2 separate regions of the Homo sapiens genome follow, and region 1 is linked to region 2. Evidence: promoter capture Hi-C in human tissues and cell types (Jung and others, 2019). All regions are on one chromosome and are shown on one strand. The core of a region is centred on a gene start or on the middle of the fragment in contact, and the rest is flanking DNA. Distances in the headings are between cores, read along the strand shown. Region 1 has its middle 5.2 kb from the start of OLIG1. Region 2 holds the start of IFNAR2 (interferon alpha and beta receptor subunit 2).

The links. Contacts are between HindIII fragments. The study calls those that stand out against the background at their distance.
Region 1: a fragment that was not itself captured here is called in contact with the fragment with the promoter of IFNAR2 in region 2 in 1 of the 25 tissues and cell types used here (H1 embryonic stem cells).

Annotation. Positions count from the first base shown.
Region 1 is chr21:33,072,927-33,077,689 of GRCh38, forward strand. No RefSeq gene overlaps it. Among named protein-coding and RNA genes, the nearest start is that of OLIG1, 5.2 kb to the left of the region's middle. The HindIII fragment of the contact is 4,648 bases long and covers 1-4,028 here.
Region 2 is chr21:33,226,837-33,232,017 of GRCh38, forward strand. IFNAR2 (interferon alpha and beta receptor subunit 2) reads left to right here and starts at 3,102. Exons shown (of 9, transcript NM_001289125.3): 1 at 3,102-3,380. IFNAR2-IL10RB (IFNAR2-IL10RB readthrough) reads left to right here and starts at 3,102. Exons shown (of 13, transcript NM_001414505.1): 1 at 3,102-3,380. RefSeq lists silencers at 2,919-3,378, 3,439-3,498, 3,519-3,568, 4,791-4,980. The HindIII fragment of the contact is 14,450 bases long and covers 1-5,181 here.

The sequences.
Region 1 (4,763 bases), core at 455-2,954, 160 kb before region 2:
TTTGGTGCTCTTAAAAAGAATTTGGAAGGCTGACCTGCTCACATTGCAATAATGAAACACTGCATAATTATTAATGAAACCCAACCACTGTTTAATGTAGGGGAGTAGTAGAGAAGTAGTGTCCCCTTTAACCTGAGGAAAATTAAAGAAAACCCAGAGATGACTTACTCAATTTTATCCATGTTGGTTTATCTGAGGCATATACACATTTAGAGAAAATGAGCACCACTTTGGAGGTGGGGGAAGGAGGTGGGAGGTGGCTGGAGAGATGGCATTGCCCGGCTACCATGCTGTGTCTATTTCCTTAAGGAGAAGTCAGGACAGGGCATGGGAGAAGGTGCTCTGTGCACCAACTCATTCCAAAAGAGGATTTCTCATGCTTCCTAGACTCTGCCACCAGCAAAGTCACCACTTTTATAAAAAGTAGATTTGAACTCTGGCCTTCTGTTTATTCAATGCCTTTCCTTGCTTACCTTATATCTTGGCAAGGGGTAGGGGAAAAAAGTGAAAATCAATGAAATCAAAAGCAAATTAGGTTCTCCTTGAAACAAAAATACTTCTAAGGGATTAGAAACAAACAATTTCTCCCACTGTCCAACACCAGCACCTAGATGCCACTGTCATTCCAGACATCATCTCTAAAAGGAGCCCAAAGCTACAGGGCAGAAAATGGGTCTGCCCTTCTCTACCTGTAAATGGGAACAAGCCGCCCATGCCTTATAGGAAAAGTAACACTATATGTGTATGATTTTTTTTTTATTTAACTAAGAAAATCACAGCCTATCATGCTTTTCAGAAGGGCCAAAGGCTATAAATAAATTTAACAAGGACACACGGGGCTGTTTTGGGTGCCATCAAAATACTTATCTGCCTGCACGTAGCGTGCTTTTGGCCGTTGTGCCAAGCAAGATTAGCAGACTTGCTCTATAGAAGGAGTTTACATCCTAAAAAATAGTACCAGCAAGCATTGAAGAGTCCTGTAGGATGAAACAGATAAAAGGTAATTATATACAGTGTCCACAATGCAAAGTCAGACTGCTCAACATCTGTCTATGGCAGGGCAGTGTATTCTGCATGCAGAGTTTAAGCTTAGACATGTGTGTTCTAGAGCATGGAGCTGCTTTTAGAAATGTTCAGTGCTATGTCACGCCAGCAAAGGAGCTAGCTGAATTGTCCACCATACTTGATTTTAGCTGGAGTGGGCTTTGTTCAGAAGGAACAAGTGTAAGCTAGCCTTTGAAGGGTTTGGGACAGCTGGGAGGGTCTTAGTAAGGTTCCTCAAGAAAGGCACTCTAAGAGCTCAGAAGCAAGATGAGAAGGAACCCACGGCTCACTGCCAAAAAAGTTCCCTGCATCCAGCCAACCACCAAAGTGAGGTCCTGGCAATTAGAGTAAACTGAACCTAATGGGAAAATACACAAGGCCCTGAGAAATTATATTGTTATATATATTGGAGTCCAGGTGAGCAATCAGTAGACAGAGGGCAGAATCAATACACGATGGGATTTGCCTAGCCCGCAGTGATGGTCTACTTACAGATGTTCTCCTCTAAGGGAAACTGATGACACTAGACATAAAAATTTAACTTTGTGAAATATACAGCTTAGAGGGTAAGTGGCTGCTTCGAGGAAGAGGCTCCTCTCCAATCATGGAAAATGTTTCCACTTACTGAAGTTTAGAAGATGAACGACAATGCTTCCATCTTGCACTCCACTTTAAGGTGTTTGGTCTTTCCTGAATGCTTAGGTACGCAGGTGAGGCTGGGTACAAGAGAGCCTCAGCCTGCTAACTAGACCCCCTGGAGCCTCCTGTTGTGTTTAGGAAGCCAGCCAGGAAAAAAAGGGGCTTTTCTTTTCTGCCATAGAAGGATACCTGATGAACTTGCCAAGAGCAAGGTGATGGTTGGGAAGAGTCATTCAATTGACACTTTTGCTCCCTGGGTATGCAGTGCATTGACTAGGAAAGTATATTTCCCTCAGAAGGTATTTTCCTGCTTCTTCACTGCCTCTTTTCTCTTCTGCACACACAATAAATATTCAATAAGAAGATTACCACATTCACTGAAGTAGGCTCACAAAGCAATGGGGTGAAAAATGCCATGTTTTTCAAAAACATGAATTCACTTTTCTCCAGCAGATTTTTAGGTGTGGGGAAAGACGTTAGAAATACTGTTTCCAAGTAAGATCCAGTTAACGTGCAAAACTGGAGTAGCAAGATATTCCTCAAAACCTGCACACAAACTAGTCTCGTTATTTATGGAGACATCGGAAAATCATTCTTAAGGCAGTTCCCATTCTGTCATTTTTAACTAAGCCCAGCGTAAAAGCTGACATGCCTGAAAAGAAACCAAACCACATTCTTTCTGCTCACACGGGATTAGGAGCTCTCCGCAAACTCTCCCCCTTCCCTCCTGCTGCTGTTGACAGGCCAGGCTCTGAGCTCAGGACAAGGAGCTGAATATTCCAAGTCCTTAAACACTACAGGCTGCATGACGCTTTTGTGTGTGTGGGGGGGTGGGGGTGGGGGGGGAATGCCTTGATTGAAAGCAAAAAGAATGCATTCTACGTCCATGCTAAGCCTTCTGCGGTGACCACCGAGGACAGAGCACGCAAGTAGGCCACTACCTGGGACAAAGGCCGCAGGTACCAAATCATATCTGAGTCTCATGAATGCTGGCAGGCAAAGGCAGTTGCAAATCATCCATTCTCTCTTCTCCCTACTGAATAAGGCAACCGAGGCCCAGGATGGTCGGGAACCACAGTCAAAGCCACACAGGTGGTCAGAGGCAGTAATGCCAGGGACTAGCGCCTGCTTTGGGGAAGCACGGGCTGCTTCCTTGGTCTGTCCTGGTGAGACAAGGAATGGGAATCCCAACAGGAGGTCCCCACCCAGAGCTGAGCATGTTCTTCTGCCCTCCCCTGGAAAATCTCGGTCCTCTGGTCTCTTCCAGCCTCTCTGCTCAGCCTGTAGGCTGGCCCTGCTGGTGGCATCCAGGAGAGATAGGCTCAGGACAAATCCCTTGCTGGCTGACCTGACTGCAGTTGAGTCACCTGAACTTTCTCGGCAGCCTCGCCCCCTAGCCCCAAGAGAGGCCCAGACTGGTGACAGGGAGTGGCAGAGGCAAGGCCACCTCTGTGAGAGATCCTCTGACGGTTGCAGGTTTGTCATTCGAGTTTCTGAAAGTGAGCAAGCAGACGGCTGACAGACAAGGGCAGCAGGGTGCAAGGAGAAAACGGCTTCTGAAGGCACAGCTTCAGAGACTTTCTCCTCCTGGCTGCCTCACAGTGTTTTCATGTGGAAACTAGACATTCTGACCCTGCTGGAACCTGTGTCAACGTCGTCGGCATCTTTTTGTTGAGTGTTTTTCATGGACACGAGTGATTCCCCAACAGGCCCCTCTGCAGTGGTGGCCTGAAATAGAGGACAGACGCCCCTGACAGGCCCTGTACCTGGAGCACCAGTCCAAGGCAAGCCATGGGGCCCAGGAAACAGGCTCCCAGCACTGGGATTCAATAAGGGCTGTTGTGTCCCAGAAGCTTCTAAGTGATGTGGGTAGCTCCTTAGAGAATGCCAAAGTCATAGGACCTGGAGACTTCAAAATCACAAGAGCAGATGAGAAGACTTGTCTGTGAGGTTAAAAAGAAAGAAAAAAGAAAAGCCAACTCACCTGGGGGCAGGCAGGTGGGAAGGAGAAGCTACTCTGCAGAAATGGCAGAGCATTACTACCAGAAATAAAAATAACAATGGTGCTGATAAGAGCTCATTGTGTTATCGGGCACCAAGCAGGGTTGTAAGCATTTTACATGCATGCTTTCATTTTGTAGGCACCAGCGTTATCCCCATTTTACAGATGAGAAAACAGAAACATGAAGATACAGAGACAGAAGAAGCTGAAGCCAGTTCAGGGAAGTTGTAGCAGCCAGACACAGAAAGAAATGAGGCTCTGTCTAGAAGAAAGAGAGCCCCCAAGGGTTGTCCTCTCTGTCATTGCTGTAATGTGGAGAGGGGTCATTTTCCTTCCTCCCCTTAGCTCTTGGGGCAAGGCTGGGAAACCCCACCTGTACCCCAGTGCCCGCCCCATGCCTGGCTGTGGCTGCTTCTATTAATTGCATGTCTAACCAATGCATGATCCAGGCGTCAACGTCTCGCCACTCCCTGTCTCCTCTTTCTTGAGCCTGAGACCATGGGGTCATTCTTTTAGGTCATTTCACTTTTAGCTTTCTTTTTTTTTCAGTTTCACTTTTTCATTTTTATCTGATTTTTATTTCCAAAATGTTCAGACCTGGCGGAGACTGATCTAAGAATGTGAGTAGTGAGATGTCAGGGATTGCGGATGGGGCAGAAGGGAGGCTTCACGCAGCCCGCACCCTTCAACACATACATGCTCCTCGTCCTGGTCACCACTGAGTGTTACAGGCAAGAAAATAAAAACCCTAAACTCCTCAGACAGTGATCATTAGGTGTCATTCTGTTCAAATCTTAAAAAATAGTTTGAGCAGATGAAGAATCAGTAAAGAAAGCTTGGAGGTGATTTGATAACATTTTATCTACCCAGAGGACCAATCAAAGAGAGTATTTGTATTGTGGTGATGGTGGTGATGGTGGTGGTGGTGGTGGTGGTGGTCGTGGTGCTGGTTTTGTTCCATTTGCTTGCTTCCGGTGGCTTCACTCACATGCTTCCTCTGCAGTCCTGGTTCCCCACAGCCATGGGCAGAAGGTACAGCCTATATATGAGTCTCTATCAGTGCACAGGTGTCCAGTGT
Region 2 (5,181 bases), core at 1,852-4,351:
GAGCGAGACTCGGTCTCAAAACAAAAACAAAAACAAAAACAGTAGCCTCGTTATAACGCCTATCACCCCTATTACTCAGGAAATTGCAGGGGATTTAGGAGCTCTAGGCAGGAACCAGACCATATATTTTTCTATGAAAAAACAAAACCCTTAGCATAGCGATCATCATGATTTTAAATTCCTAGTCTGATTTGCAAATTCTCTGCCATCTCCGAGTCTTATTTCTAAGCTTGCTTTGTCTCTTCCAATTGTGCTTGGTGTTGTCTGCCTTTCAGCATGCCTTGTAATTCGTTGTTAAAAACTAGATATAACATATCAGGTCATGGGAGCTGAGATAAATGGCCCTTTAGGATAAGGTGTTAGGTTTATCTGGCTAAGAGTTAGGCTGTGTTAAATGTTTGCTGTAGTTGTAGGTGTCAGAGGCTTCAGTTTTATTTAGTGTCCTCATTTTTGTCTCCTCCATTGTCTTTGGGTTTTCCTAGAAATGCCTTCTTAAATGGAGTTGTAATCCACCGTTATTATACTACAGAGTCCTGTTGATGTGGTGGTAAGATACTGTGGAGGCAAAACATTCTACAATCTTATGATTAATTCCCAGAGTTTTCTTTAATGGGCCTGAGTCTCTGGGCTATGACCCTCCGAGAAGTTTCTTAACTTTTGCTTTTTTCCTCCAGTCATGATAGACAGGAAGGCTAGAGGGGGCTGAGTTGTCTAATTGCCCTTCTGCTAGGTCAGTTTAGGCTCCAGTAATGTAATTGCCCTGAGGACAGGTTTTTGTTACAGAACACTCTGGGCATATCTCAAAATGTTTACTTTTCCCCTCCCACCGGCCAGTCAGGAATTTTTCTGTGGTCTTTACCATGAGAACTTGGTAGAGCTTCTTGGAGTAAACCTTTAACAATTTGGGGAGCATCCCTCTAAGACTGAGTACCCAACAGTGTTTAATTCTCAAGCTAGTCCACACTCAGTCTCCAGCAATTAGTCAATTACAATTTAAGTTTTGCTATGATTTCAGAGGCTTCTGGTCCCTGTAAACTGTGATTCTTTGCATTTGTCTGTCTTTCAGTTTTTGCAGTTTGCCCTGTGACTCAATTCACTGATACTGAAACAAGAAGAGTTGTTAATCTTCAATTTGTTCAGCTTTTCTCTTGTTGTGGGGAGTGGAGTGACAGCTTTCAAGCTCTTCACACCTTGGCATAGACTGCATTTGCTTTTGTTTTGTTTTGTTTTTTGTTTGTTTGCTTGTTTTGAGACGGAGTCTCGCTCTGTCGCCCAGGCTGGAGTGCGGTAGCGCAATCTTGGCTCACGGCAAGCTCCACCTCCTGGGTTAACGCCATTCTCTCGCCTCAGCCTCCTGAGTAGCTGGGGCTACAGGCGCCCGCCACCACACCTGGCTAATTTTTTTTTTTTTTTTTTTTTTTTTTTGGTATTTTTAGTAGAGACGGGGTTTCACCGTGTTAGCCAGGACTGCATTTGTTTTTTAAAAAATCTTTTTCCTAATTATATAAGTAAGGATGTTTACTGTAGAATGTTTGGAAAGGAAACAAAATAAAAATCACCTACTATCATCCAATCTGCAATAAGTCATAGTTAAGGTTTTGACATAGTTTTATTTTTAATATATATGTTTATATAAAAGAGTGCATGCAGCACATGGAGTTTGGTATTGGATTTCTCCCATTTTCAGAGGCTATTTCTGCAAATTCTCTAAAACTGTGGCTGAAAATATTTTCAATGTTGAATGTCTTTTATAAGAAATAGGATCCTAGATAAGTTCCCTTCAGATCGTATGGGGCTGGTGGGAATTCTGCCAAGGGTCACATAAGAGGCAGGACCGTGACATCCTCTTTATGATCACCCTTGTGCCTAGCCTTAAAGGAGTATCAGCAAATGTTGGTTGACTTCATAGATTAAAAGGCTCATTTTTCCCATCTACAAAAAGTATGAAACATCCTCCTCCTCCCTTTCCTAGGAGGCCAGAAAGCTGAACGAGAGATTAAATACTCAGTTAAAACAATTTAGGTGGTTAGTGTATCTTTTCCCTCTCCTTCAAAAAGATATTAACATTTCCATTTTAGTAGCTGTAATGTTTAGAATATACATACATTTTACTTGAAAGCTGCCTCATAGTCTATTTTGGTTTTGGATTTTCTTTTTTTTTTCGTTTTTCTTGAGACAGAGTTTCGCTCTTGTCTCCCAGGCTGGAGTGCAATGGTGCAATCTCAACTCACTGCAACCTCCACCTCCCAGGTTCAAGCAATTCTCCTGCCTCAGGCTCCCAAGTAACTGGGATTACAGGCGCCCGCCACCACGCCCAGCTAATTTTTGTATTTTTAGTACAGACAGGGTTTCACCATGTTGGTCAGGCTGGGTCTTGAAGTCCTGACCTCAGATGGTCCATCTGCCTTGGCCTCCCAAAGTGCTGAGATAACAGGTGTGAGCCACCGCTCCCGGCCTCATAGTCTATTTTAGAAGTTGACAGGCTATAAATAACAAGCAGACAAATTAATGAAGAACATCTGTCTTTCTGCCTATCCCGAAACACGTTGATCAGTGGGGGGTCGAGGGAAGGGTAGGAGTATGGAGAAGAGACCCGCGGAGAAGAGGGGAGAATCTACAACGGATAATGTTGTAGATATTTACAACATTTACTCAATGGTAGGTATTTTTATCCTCGTTTTACTAGTTGGAGAATTATATCATGCAGGTTTATACAATTAACAAGTGGGGGAGCCAGGAGAGAACCCATTCACTCTTTAGTTCATTCATTCATTCAGTCAGTCAACACATCTTTGGGTGTCTTCTAAATGCCAGGCACTATTCTAACCCCTAAGGATACTTCAGTAAACAAAACAGTCCCAAATTCTTCCCCTATGGAGCTTTCTCGGCGAAGGCGGGATTGGTTAGGAGCTGACAATCGGCAGCAGACGATTGTAAATGACCGGACCTTTTTTCTATTCTCCTGCCCAGCCCCCGGCCCGGCCTCCGCCTCCGGCCCTGCTCCAGCCCCGCCAGCGGCCCAGGACCCGCCCCTGGCTCCGGCCCCGCCCCTGGCTCCGCCCCCGCCCCCGCGCCGGCGGCGGCGCGGCGCCCGCGCTTCCGTATCGCTCCTCGTAGGCCGGGGCTCGGCGCGCGCACCCGCACTAAAGACGCTTCTTCCCGGCGGGTAGGAATCCCGCCGGCGAGCCGAACAGTTCCCCGAGCGCAGCCCGCGGACCACCACCCGGCCGCACGGGCCGCTTTTGTCCCCCGCCCGCCGCTTCTGTCCGAGAGGCCGCCCGCGAGGCGCATCCTGACCGCGAGCGTCGGGTCCCAGAGCCGGGCGCGGCTGGGGCCCGAGGCTAGCATCTCTCGGGAGCCGCAAGGCGAGAGCTGCAAAGGTAACGCAGCGTGGCGGGGTCGCGGGAGCGGAGCGCGTGGCCAGCTGACTGGAGGGAAAACGCCGCCTCCCTGCAGCGGTTCCCGGAATCCCCTCCGGTTCCCTCTCGCTCTCCCCGACTCCTCCTCCTCCTCCTGCCCTCCCTCTGCGTCTTGAGTATGCGGCTAGTGCGCCCTTCCTCTCTCCCGGGGCCGCACCTGCGACCCCAGGACCCCTCCCGGGCCCTGTCCTGCGCCCTCCACGCGTCGCCCCTGCTGGGAGTCCGCTTTCGTTGCACCCCTCCGCGTCCCACCCCACCCCACCAAGGATGCCCAGGATACCGGGCATTTGCCACTGCAAGATGTGAGTCGTTGCTAAGTTTGAGGGTCACATTCCTCCAGGTCCACCCCGCCTTGCAAAACCGGCTCACCAGCTGGGTGCTCAGGTTCGGGATCTCCAGCCCGCCCCCTTGAGGTCCCCTGGGATTAGCCCCCCTCGACCTGCGTCAGGGTCACAGACTGCAGCCGGGGCTGGAGCGGCCTACACCCCTCCGGATCCGCTGCGTGGAGGCAGGAGGGGGAAGGGGCGAGGGGACGTGGCCGCGGAGACAGAAGGGTGCACCCTCCCAGGGTCGGAGAGGGGAGATACTGGGAAGATACTCCGCGAATATGGAGAGGCGATCGGCACTTGCATTTCAACCCTGAGCAAATCAATCCGTTACACGCAGTAGCGAGTTGACTCCATCAGCCCGTTTATTTGGTTAGCGATGGTTATATTGACTCTGAGTATTCCCACCTCCTTTCTTTTAACATTTTTTTTTTTATTTCCTTGTTTTGTTTAGCAAGAAGTCTTAGAAACGAATATAGCATGCTTGGGCGTTGATTCAGTGGTGAGAAGTGCCGGAGCTGGCTCAGGGAGAGGTGGAGTTTCCCATGTGTGCTCACTGGCCCAGGGGCTAAGTCCCACTGCTTGCCAAGGTTTCTCAGTATCCTGTCCACCCACCCCCTATCCACCTGTGCAGGCTTGAGGGGGTGAGGGGGTAGCAGATACTCTATCAAAATCTACCCTAAGGAAAATATTCGATAAACACTCCTAGCAATTAGGGCATAGCTGATAAGGCTTGATCTGTTTGTCGCAGAAAATGACTTGAACTTGTAAGTTCTATTGTTCATAAAGTTGTTTTCCACAATTTTAGATAATCAAAAATGTACATGACTCATTTTTCTTACCTATTATTTCCTCTAAAGTTTCTCATGTATTTATTGAAAAGTTAAAGAAAATCTGATTTTGGTTCACATAATTTGACAATGGTGATTTGTCTAAAAGTCATTTCAAAAAGTAGTATGAAAAGGATCATAACCCTAGAGGTACTGTCATAGACGTGAAACATTTATTAAAATATATATTCCATGGCTCACACTTGCACACTCAAAGCCACATTGGACTCATTTTTTCTGCTACCTTTATAAACCTTCAAACTGTTCAAGAGTCAATGGTATGTATCATCTTCCGTTATCAATCATCATGTTTTGTTTTGTTTGGTTTGGTTTGGTTTGGTTTGGTTTTTGACAAAGTCTCGCTCTGTCGCGCAGGCTGGAGTGCAGTGGCACTGTCTTGGCTCACTGCAACCTCCCCCTCCTGGGTTCAAGCGATTCTTCTGCCTCAGCCTCTTGAGTAGCTGAGATTACAGGCGTGTGCTACTACGCCTGGCTAATTGTATTTTTAGTAGAGATGGGATTTCCACTATGTTACCCAGCCTGGTCTGGAACTTCTGACCTCAAATGATCCACCTGCTTTGGACTCCCAAAGTGCTAGTATTACAG